Regions from separate parts of the Homo sapiens genome. Here region 2 is linked to region 1. Evidence: promoter capture Hi-C in human tissues and cell types (Jung and others, 2019). All regions are on one chromosome and are shown on one strand. Each heading gives the region's core, a stretch centred on a gene start or on the middle of the fragment in contact. The rest is flanking DNA. Distances are from core to core; before and after follow the strand shown. Region 1 holds the start of GALNT3 (polypeptide N-acetylgalactosaminyltransferase 3). Region 2 has its middle 27 kb from the start of CSRNP3.

Region 1 (6,054 bases), core at 2,684-5,183:
ATTAGCAAGACATAGTTTTGTTGTAATCTAAGTCAACCCCTCATAGTATGTGAACCACTTTGAAAATCTGAGATGATTGTTCTGAGATTCTACAGGGGGAAGAATCATATAAAACAATGTCCAAAAAAGTTCATACTAAAATAACCTATTTATATTTTCCCTGTTTTAACTTGCTATATTTTAAACACAATGTAGAATTATGTTGGATCATTATTTAAAAAATACCCACGTGTTTGTGGCTCTTCACTGTGATACCACCTCTATTCTCTGCTTGAATCAATAGCATTTCAACACTTTTACTGCTTTGAGAAGAAATTATTCCAGTCTGTTCAGTCTTTGAGCCAAATCTCTCAGTCTGACTTTGAGATCCTCACTAAAAGCTCTAGTTCCCTCATGAGGCAAAACTGTTTCTAGAGTATGTTTCAAAGCAAAGTTGTGTAACCAACAATTAAACAATTAACAAACTAAAATAGTTTAAAGTTAGGCTTAGTAACTTTACACATTTACTTGTTACATTATATATTACAACTATTTTTTATGAATTAAAATTTCGATCTCAGCTAAATAATTTCAGTTTCTTCATCTTTGCTGTCCCATTAATTATTATTGCTATATCCAGAAGGTTTCATTTATTTATTTATTTATTTGCCCAATTCTCTTGGCATAGAGTTTATATGAATCAGAATGTAAAGAAGCCTGTAGATCATCTTGTACCACTATTTTGTTTTGTGGAAGAGAATATTTAAGCCAGATGTAAAGTAATTTGTAGGAGTGTAAGTTGTTTTGCGTAGTGTCTTTTGAAATGTAGGTATGTGAAAGCTGGTAGCTATTGTTCTTAGAACTTTGCAATTCAGATTACCAGTCTAGTGTTCTTATCTGCCTTGGATTATTTGTCATTACTGTTGGGTAAAACCATTCTTTAGACCTGTAAATTGCTCAAGACACTAGGCATTTTTTTTATGGTACTTGATGGGTCAATTTATTCATTTAACACATATTTATTAAGTACCTACTAAGTGCCAGGTGCTGGTCTTGGCATTAATTTAAATGTTAACAGAAAGTATTAAGGAGTGAGTATTGTTTCAAATCCATGCAAATGAGCATTTTGTGGCTAGTCGTGTGTGTGTGTGTGTGTGTGTGTGTGTGTGTGTAATAAGTACGTGTGTGTGTGTGAGAGAGAGAGAGAGAGAATGTTTGTTTCCTTCCTGTGTAAAATCTGCCCAGTTTTCTATCTTAACTGTCATTATATGTCAAACATATACTATTAAAATTAGCTTATTTCTGAAGCATGTCTACACTAAGGTTCCTGGATTTTATTTATGATGAAATGCTAATTTCTCTTTATGAAACAAATTCTTTATTTCATAATTTTGAATAGGATGGTACTTTCAAAAACCTGCATCTGATTAGATTTGGGGCATTAAATATTTCAATATGATAATATTTTTTTCTTGGGCCTGCAGCATTTTAATTTTATTGTCACATAGAAAATTTTTTATTAATATTAAGACTTTGCTTTCAGAATGCTTTGAAATAGTACAAGCAACGTTGTGTAAAATAGTACAGGTGGAGCATCCCTAATCCACAGATCCAAAATCTGAAATGTTCCAAAATTCAAAACTTTTTGAGCACCAACATGACACCACAAGTTGAAAATTCCACACATAAGTACTTTACACAAACTTTGTTTCATGCATAAAATTATTTACAATGTTTTATAAAATTACCTTAAGGCTATGTGTATAAGGTGTATATGAAACATAAATGAATTTTGTGTTTAGACAGGTCTCATCCCCAAGATATCTCTCTCTCTCTCTCTCTCACTCTCTCTCACTCTCTCTCTTTCTCTCTCTCTATATATATGACACTCAACGTGCACAAGTAATGCCACACTCAGAAAAACTGCTTCCTTCTTTAAATTGTCTGTCTCCATTGTAAAACTGACAGTCAAATTTTAGTAACTCCTGATCTTTTTTGTTTCTTCTGTTCTTTTTAGACTCCTCATCCAGCATTTTGGTCCTGTTTGCTGGCTCTCTCTTTTAATAGGTCTACCCTAGCTTCTCTTTTCAGTTGTTATTTGACGTTACTAGTCTTGCTGTCAATGCATCTCAGTCCTTGGATTCCAGATTGTTATTCTATATCCATCTGCTCTGTCCTGATTGTCAGTGAAAAGTGTTGCTCTTCGCCTGGTGGGACATCAAAACTCTGACAATCTTTGGCTCTTCATTCAGAGATGGGTGGTGCGTGCAAAAGGGTACAGGTTTCTTGGTTATACATTTAGGATACCTTACAAATTTTCCAAAGACTAACATTAACCTCTGGTTAGGGGTAAACGACAAAGTGGCACAACGAAGAAGAAGGAGAAGGAGAAGAGAATTTCAGTAGTTAGTATTTTCAGTTCTGGACCTGGACCTAAGGAAAAACACTGCCAAGTTAGTATATCAATACACACAAGTATCTCCTGAACTATTTTTTTGTTTGTTTGTTTTTGGAGGGAAAGGGAGCTTGGCAATTGCTTGTAGGTACTGATATTAAAATGTTGCAAATACATGGAGGTTCCTTGGTGCTCGCAAAATAACCATGACATGTAAAACAAGCAAAGAACTACCTAGTTTACTAAAGTCTTAAACCCTAACTCATAGATGTCCTAGTATAAAATAGCACTATGGATGCTAAAACCAATGTCTTAGAGTAGTCAAATACTAAAGATACACTTGTTGATACTATACTAAACTGTATTTTAAACCTTATTTTTAGGTCACGCATAGCACTAATAAAACAGTGAATAAGCACCATAAGAGCATGTCAAAATGTAGGAGGAAGGCCACAACTAAACTTCATAGTAAAACCTACCACCATGTGATTAAACACGACACCAAAAAGTTTTTAGCTAGTTTTCTATTTATATCCCTAGATATCTTTGGGATAGGGCCAAAGAAATGAGTTCATAGAAAGGTATAAAGGCCATTTTAAGTCCTGGTTTTGGGTGTGTCAATGTTTGTTGCAGCAGCAGAAGGAAGGCTGAAACAGAAAGTTGTGTCATAAATGGAACAAATACTGTTTAACAATTTTTTTTTGTCTTAAAAACAGCAAAACCCACCATCTTCCTGGAGTCTGCGTTGTTCTCTTCCAGAATAGATGTTGAGCTTTTAAACAAACCTGCAGTAGAAGCAAGCCCTCTCCAGGAAATCCCAATCTCTTTCCAAACAGGGACAGCAAAGGTTCTCTCTGTTGTGGCTGTTTTTCCCTCTCTTCTGGGAATTGGTTTGCCTTCTGAGAGCATCCCAGGAAGGGGAGGTGCGCCCCAAATTGGCGAGGCTCTGCCAAATACCAAAGGCTCTTCTTTGGAAGAAGACTCCTCCTTTGGACGTGAGGCGCCCCTACCAGAGCGCCCGCGTACAGAAACGGAAACCACTAGCTGCGCTGAAGTGAGTCAAGTGATGAAATCAAGACTACACGGGAAGGAAGCTCACGAAACCTAACTGGTGACAGAAGCTGCTGAACCCTGCCCGAAGAAACCACATGAGCCAGCAGTTGCTGCCCTCCCGAAGTGGTCCTCGGAGGCAGCGCACCCCTTCATTTTGGCGAACCGAGGAGGAAGGGAGGAACCGTGTGGGGGAAATCTAGAACTTCTGGTTCCCCAAGGACCCAGCAGACTGTGTTCTGGCTACAAGGTGATCACTGCCACCAGGTCAGTGCAGGATTCCTCCAATGTAGATGGGCCGGGAGCCACAACTTGCGCGGAGCAGCAGCCTCGCCGACCACTCAGAGAGAAGCCGCGCGACAGCCAGGCTTGGCCCGGACGGCGCCCCCACCCTGCGCGCGCGATCCAAGGTTCTCACCTGGAGCGCTCAGGTAGGGCTGGGGCGGGGCGGGAGGCTGGCGCGCAGGCGCGGAAGTGGGGCCTCGCCCCTGCCGACGTCGCAGGCTGGAGCTCACCTGGGAGACTCCAAGTGGAAGCCGAGCCTCGGTTCTGCCTCTCCAGGCAACGCGGGAGGCCCAGCGGGAAGGCAGGAGGCGGCGGCGGAGGAGGAGCTCTACTGAGCCGCAACTGTGGCGACAGCAACCGGAGTCGCAGCCGCCGCCACCTGCACCTGGCGCCTAGCCCACGTCCAGCGCCTGCCCGGCCGCCGCTTCCCGCCACCCTGCCCTGCCCACCCGCCAGGTAAGCCGGCGGCAGGCGGAGGGAGACGCGGTACCCCTGGGCTGCGTTAGAGCAGGCGGGAGGACGGCCGCAGGGGTTCACGTGTTGGGGACAGGGCTACGGTCCAGGTGGCCGGTTGGAGACGGTCTCGAGAGCAGTGTGTCGGTTGCCCCTGGAGAGATCCCGAAAGGGGCGCCCTGGGCCAAGGGGCAGGTGGCGCCTCGGGGGGGAGCCCGGTCACACCCTCTCGCCCACGGTGCCCCCGCCAGTCCCTATGGGGCGGCCCCTGAGGAGCTGGACGGAGACCAAAGACCTGGTGGCCCCGGACTTGCCCTTGGGAGGGTCGCAGCGTGGGGACCCTGAGAGGGAGGGCCCGGCGGGAGGCGGGCGCGCTTCCACTCCGGCTAGCAGGTTGCCTGTCTCCTCCAGCCTCTCTGCCCGAGAGGACATCCCGCGACAGCGAAAGACATGGCTTTGCCAGGCAACTTTCCTAGCCGGGGACCCCAAACAGTTCTAGGCTGCAAACCGCGGCCGCCGAGCCATTTAAATGGTTTCCGAGTGGTTTGGAAAGGGCTCTGTGGCCGGGACGCGGACACCCCTCTCTCTCTGTTTCGACTCTGCACTTTTCCGGGTGCGCTCTCCAGGCCAGAGTTGGGCCCACTTTCCTGATCAATGGAGAAGAGTTCTTTTCTTCCGTGGCGGGAAGAAATCCAACTGCCACGCACCAACCACTCACCATCTCGTTAGAGGACCTGTTGACTTAAGGACCTGCATATCGCGGCTATGGTTTGCCTGTGGCATATGACTCAAAGGTTCAAAAAAACATTGTTTCAGGATCCTGCCACGTCTAAGCTTGGGTGTGCCAGGCCCAGATTCCTTTCCCTGCCTAATTAGGCTTTTCTGAAGCCTAAGAATTGAGGGTGAAACTGGCGCTTACCTTAGACTTTTATTTCCTTCTCTTTCCAACTCATCAAAGAAACTATTTCTGTTTTAAGAACCCCATCGAGTTACCAATATTTCCGATTCTTGAAAACGTTAACATAACTTGCTATAGAAGTTACACTACATAATGAAGACATTTACAGTCAAATTCTATAGCTAAAAAATATTAAAGTGACAGCATTTTAATTAGAAAATCTCTGCTTGTGGGAAAATCTGTTGCTTCTTTTATTGTATATATTTTTCTTTGCGTTTGTGGCTAAAATCCATGAGGTTAAAGTCACACGCTGCCATTAGATTCTTTTTTTTAATTTAACTTTTAATATCTGAAATCTAGTGCACATGTTAAACTTTCCAAGCAATTTGTACCGAGAATCAATCTTTATATATTGCTTTAACCAACATTTTTACGTAGAAGTTTCTGATAATAATAACAATTCCATTGTTTTGTTCTATCTCCACACATTTTAAAAATATTTTTTAAATTGCACGTTTTACTTAAAATGCCTGATGCAACATGTAGTGGGGTTATTTTTCTTCTTCTTTTTAAGATTAGATGGAAATCTAAAAGCCAACCACAGCATAACATGATGTAATTATTAATTCAATCACCACTTTTCTACATTTCTTAAAAGGATCTCACCTGACCTCTTAATCTTGTCTCCATACAGAGAAACAAATGTGCTAAATACTGTTTAAATATGAGATATAGGAGTTGTTCCCTGAATTTTGAATATTAGTCTTCATTACTTACTAGGCAGATGTTACCAGACTGTCTTTCCTCTTAACCTCTAGTGAGAAATGTAACATGTTTTCATTAGCTAGAGTAACAGTGTAACTTAATCTATCTGTTAAATAGGAAAAATAATACTTTCCTAGATTAAGATAACAAAACCTTAAAAACAATCAGGAGTATCTTCCAGCCCTAGCATTCTCGAGATCCCTTTCTCACTTTGGAGATTCAATACTCA
Region 2 (5,525 bases), core at 1,025-3,524, 350 kb after region 1:
GATTGCAACAATATAGTCACACTTTAGGCTCTGCCTCTAAATCTAGTTCTTTTCCTATCTCCAGTACATCTGCAGTTACTTCCTCCACTGAAGTCTTGAACCCCTTAAAGTCATCTATTGATCTAAAGTTGCCTCTCAAAGTTTGGAATCTCCTTGTTCCAGACTCCCATTAATGTTGATATTTTGACCTCCTCCCACGAATCACAAATGTTCTTAATGGTCTGTAGAATGGTGAAATTTTTTCCTGAAGACTTTCAATTTGTTTACCCCAGTTCCATTAGAGGAATCACTATTTATGGCAGCTGTAGCCTTACAAACTGTGTTTCCTTAAGAGTAACACTTGAATGTCAAAATTACTTCTTGAGTCATGAGCTGCAGAATGTATGTTGTGTTAGCAGGCATGAAACAACATTAATCTTGTTCATCTCCATCAGAGCTCTTGAGTGACTATGTGCATTGATAATAAGCAGTAATATTTGAAAGAGATCTTTTTTTTCTGAGCAGTAGGTCTCAATATGAGCCTAAAATATTCAGTAAAACATGTGTAAACAGATGTGTTGTCATTCAGGCTTTGTTGTCCCAATTATAGAGTCTGGGTAGAGTAAATTTAGTATAATTATTAAGGGCCCTAGGTTTGGGGAATGACAAATGAGTACTAATTTCATCTTAAAGTCACCAGCTATACTAACTCCTAGTAAGAGAGTCAACCTGTCCTTTGAAGATTTGAAGCCAGGCATTGACTTCTCTCTGGCTGTGAAAGTCCTAGATGGCATCTTCTTCCAACAGAAGGCTGTTTCATCTACATTGAAAATCTGTTGTTTAGTGTAGCCACCTTCATCAATGGTCTTAGCTAGATCTTCTGGATAACTTGCTGAAGCTCCTCCATCAACACTTGCTGCTTCCCCTTGCATTTCTATGGTATAGAGACAGCTTCTTTCCTTAAACCTCATGAACCCACTTCTGCTAGCTTCCAACTTTTCTTCTGCAGCTTCCTCGCCTCTCTCAGCCTTCACAGAATTGAAGAGACTTAGGGCCTTGTTCCAGTTTAGGCTTTGGCTTAAGGGAATGTTGTGGCTGTTTTATCTTCTATCTAGACAACTACAACTTCCTCCGTATCAGCAATAAAGCTGTTTCGCTTTGTATTTATTTATTCGCTTCGTTATTATTCATGTGCTCGCTGGAGTAGTACTTTTAATTACCTTCAGGAACTTTTCCTTTGCATTCACAACTTGGCTAACTGCTTGGCACAACAGGCCTAGCTTTTGGCCTATCTTGGCTTTCCACACTGCCATCTTCACTAAGCTTCATCTTTTCTAGCTTTTGATTTAGAGTAAGAGACATGCAACTCTTCCTTTCACTTGAACACTTATAAGCCACTGTGGCCTCATTTCAACATTATTGTGTCTCAGAGAACAGGGAGGCTGAAGAGAGGAAGAGAGATGGGAGAAGGGCCAGTCAGTGGGGCAGTAAAAACACACACCTTTCTGGATTCACTTTGCTGTCTTCCATGGGCATGGTTTGTGGTGTCCAAAACAATTACAATAGTAACTTCATAGATCAACGGCCACAGATCACCATAACCGATATAGTAATAATGAAAGAGCCTAAATATTGCCAGAAACACCAAAATGTGACACAGAGACCCAAAGTGAGCATATGCTATTTGTTACCACAAACCTTCAATTTGTTAAAAAATGCAATAGAAATGAAGCACAATAAAATGAAGTATGCCTATAGGAAGTTTACTTCTCATAAGAATGATCTGGTTTATACTAACAAAGGTCTATTAAAAGTTTCTTGAGTCTTTAGAAAAAGGGTGCTTTAAATGCAGAAAGCAAAATGCAATGTAATAATATAAGCACAAGGAAAGAGATTATTCTTGCAATTTGCTTATGTAATTTTCTCTCTCTCTCTGAATTACGGGTAGTCTCTAAGGCATTCATCAGATAATAATCTGGTAGAAGAAATACAGAATATACCGATTCTCTTCCATTAGCAAAACCCTACCTGAAAGCTGAATATTGTATTGCAATTAGATATTATTACACTGCCTGCCTCTCAGGTGTCAGACCTTACCACCTACTCAAACAAAACCTTCTTGTCACTTCCTGACCCATAAACACAAATGCTTTCATTACATGATCAAAGCTGTGAAACAACTCCCAGACACTTCATCCTCACACAGGATGTGCTTTCAAACTTCCCTCCTGACTTGTTAAGGAAATAGCTACATCAAATCACAAACATCTAAGATTGAAGAGCACTGAAATGTTTGTTTGATATCCAGGATGATTTTAGGCAAGCTTTTATGTCAGTTTGAACTTTAGTTCCTTCATCTGTGAAATAAGAGTTTGGTCTAACCATTCTTGGGAAACTGTTATCTCATTGGCTAATTTTGTCCTGCAGATATGTTTTATTTGACCGGCAGTGCTTTTTTGTATGCATCTGTGGCCAACATTTAAAAATTAGAATGTTTATATAAAAGCCCATTTCTGGATTCTCTTTTAAACATTGGTAGATCTGGCCTACATTCTCCCTTGGCAACAATTAGCTGGAGCTGAGTCTTTACTGCTCATCCTCTTTAGACAGGGATTGTGCTCTCTAAGACATCAGAAGCCACAGCAAGTCCATGAATTGTAGTGTTGCGTGGCCCCAGGAGCACTAGAAATTGTGCTAGAAATCTATAATCTAATAACTTCTTCTATCTCTTCCAATTCTGAAATCCTATGGTTCTCTTTTTCCTAAAAGCCTAACACGTACTGCTGAGATAAGCGGAGGAGGATGTAAAGGGATAGAACAGAATAAAGAAAGAGGGGAATTCTAGACTTCCTCTCTGACTCTCTGACAGGGTATGGATGTAAAATCTCTCTTGAATAAGCAGATTTAATCCTTTCAAAATTTGATCCATAATTTCAGAGGGGGTGGAGGGTGAGAAAACATACAAACACTACCATCATATTTACCAGATGATGTGGAATTGAAAATAACACCAAAGCAGAAAAATAGCTACTAAATTTTATTTTTGTTATTTTTTAAATTTATTTACTTATTTTTTAAGAGAGATGTGGTCTCACTATGTTGCCCAGGCTGGTCTCAAACTCCTGAGCTCAAGTGATCTTCCCACCTCAGCCTCCCAAAGTGCTGGGGTTACAGGCATGAGCCACCACGCCCAGTTATTTTTAAAATTTAGATTTGTTCTCTTTCAAATTATAAAAACTCATCCATATTAATTTTAGAATATTTGAAAATTCAAAAATGTATAAAATAGTACCAGGTTAGCATCCATTCAATTCAAATCCTAAGGATAATATATATGTATATCATATTTATGTGTGTGTATATATATAATATGTATTGCTTAAACCTGCAAGCTATGGTTTAAGCATTAGGCTTACAAATTGTGGTACTATAGTTTGAATTTACAGGGGATAAAGTGGTTTTATTCAATTGATTATAACAAGCATTAATACACACTTACAAGGTACTAGAAGGGATACAAAGACAAACCAAGAAAATAATATTGGGCTTCTGGAGGCACAAAATCTATGATGGGAGAATAATACAAGTACACATACCACTAATGCAAAGCAAAAGGAGGCAAAAAGAAAATTATCAAATACAATAATTATTTGGTCTGTAATTCAGAGAAGCTTGCCAATGAAATAATGGAAAAAAAATTATTTTCCAAACAGTTTTAAAGAAATTCAAAATTTCACCATTATGCCAAATAGCACAATTCAAAAAATAAAAATATTGACTAAAATGAAAAAAAAAGCCTGTTATTGAAATGCATGTATATGATTATAATTAATCAAAATTATTCTAAGATAAAAAATTAAGTATTGTGAAGATAAGTAGAAAATAGAGCCCCTGCCTACTCACTGTTTGTGTAAAAGAAATGAAACGAGGTTTCATAGCTTACTGGATGAACATTGTGCTTTCTCCCAGGCTTCATGGGGCCTAGCACTGAAAGTAGTTACCATAATTTAAAATACCTCTGTTTGAAAGATGTTTATTCTCCCATAGATCATAAACCAACCAGAATATGATTTCAGTGTGTTATGAATAATACTTGAAAGAATTTTTTTGTTTTTGTTTTTGATCCATAATTTGTTTTGATCCATAATTTCAGAGGGGTGGAAGGTGAGAAAACATACAAACACCACCACAGTATTTACCAGACGATGTGGAATCGAAAATAATACCAAAGCAGAAAGAGTTACCAAATTTTATATTTTTTTATTTTTAAAATTTACTTTTTAAATAGAGATGTGGTCTCATTATGTTGCCCAAGCTGGTCTCGAACTCCTGGCCTCAGGTGATCTTCCCACCTTTTTTAGAGACAGGGTCTTGCTCTGTCATCCAAGCTGGAGTACAGTGGTGGGATCATAGTTCACTGTAGCCTCAAACTCCTGAGCTCAAGCAATCCTCCTGCCTAAGCCTTCCAAGTAGCTAGGACAACAGGTGCGTGCCACCATACCCCATTCTTTTTTTTTTAAACTTTTGGTAAAGGTGGGGTCTCACATGTTTCCCAGACTGGTCTCAAACTTCTGGGCTCAAACAATCCTCCCGCCTTGTACTCTCAAAGTGCTGGGATTACAGGCGTGAGCCTCCACACCTCACCTGACAGAAAAATTATCATGTCTAAATACACACTTGCAAGGGAAAAAAAATTCTCCTGGTTTAATTTAAAAATGATAATTGGTTTATTTTTCAAAGGACCTTAATTCTGAAAATGTTTTGCTATAGTATATTTGTATATGTAAAACCTAATGATAGCCTCAATAACTTCCCAAATGAAATTACAATTAGATGCCATGTATTCTGTTTGCAAGTCTACAATGTTATTAAATTATTATTGCCTTGCAAATTAATACTTGCTTTCATTTGTAAGTGACCAAGAGGAAAACAGGCTCAAAATGAATGTCAAACAGTAAATACAAATCACTAAAATTTATGGCTATTTTTCCCTAGAATCTTTTTCTCGTACTTGAAAAATACAACTTATACTAATAATAAAACATTTTTCCTAGCTTTTTATAGTTTTAAAGACTGATATGCTTGCCACAGGATTTTTATTTGTCCAGAAAACTAAGTGGAAATAAGACACTGTCCACCAGATAAAACATGGATAATAAATGTAATCCTTCACATTTACTGCTGATCTATCAAATGTACAGTTGTCAACCTAATCAATTCCTTTGATGGATCAACATTTCCATTACTAAGAGAAAACGTATACCTCTGAGCTGTGTATTATTCTCTGCAGACACAAAAAAATGAGGTTGTCATGGCAACTGCAAACTGTGGAGATTCTGTCATGACCCAGTAGCAGTATAATGGAAAACATCTGCCTGGAAATCACAAGCTGGCACAAGGTCTTTGGAAGGAAGTATTTGAGAGAATTTAACCTTAAAAGATTTCCTCAGTTTTGATCTCAGACTCTCTTACTGCAAACATGTAAAATGTTGCTATTCTTGCCAACATCTGCAGCACACAACATAAAGGAAAACACACAGAGAAAA

What was found. The method cuts DNA at HindIII sites, captures the fragments that hold promoters and counts their contacts. A contact is called where the count stands out against the background at its distance.
Region 2: a fragment that was not itself captured here is called in contact with the fragment with the promoter of GALNT3 in region 1 in 2 of the 25 tissues and cell types used here (H1 embryonic stem cells and dorsolateral prefrontal cortex).

The regions. Positions count from the first base shown.
Region 1 is chr2:165,792,126-165,798,179 of GRCh38, reverse strand. GALNT3 (polypeptide N-acetylgalactosaminyltransferase 3) reads left to right here and starts at 3,933. Exons shown (of 11, transcript NM_004482.4): 1 at 3,933-4,165. It overlaps LOC124906086, which reads right to left and starts at 4,594. Exons shown (of 6, transcript XM_047446887.1): 1 at 4,388-4,594; 2 at 3,843-4,261; 3 at 3,101-3,380. The coding sequence starts at 4,594. RefSeq lists silencers at 3,991-4,140, 4,211-4,300 and enhancers at 3,371-4,276, 4,277-5,183. The HindIII fragment of the contact is 8,213 bases long and covers 1-6,054 here.
Region 2 is chr2:165,440,328-165,445,852 of GRCh38, reverse strand. No RefSeq gene overlaps it. Among named protein-coding and RNA genes, the nearest start is that of CSRNP3, 27 kb to the left of the region's middle. The HindIII fragment of the contact is 4,781 bases long and covers 1-4,664 here.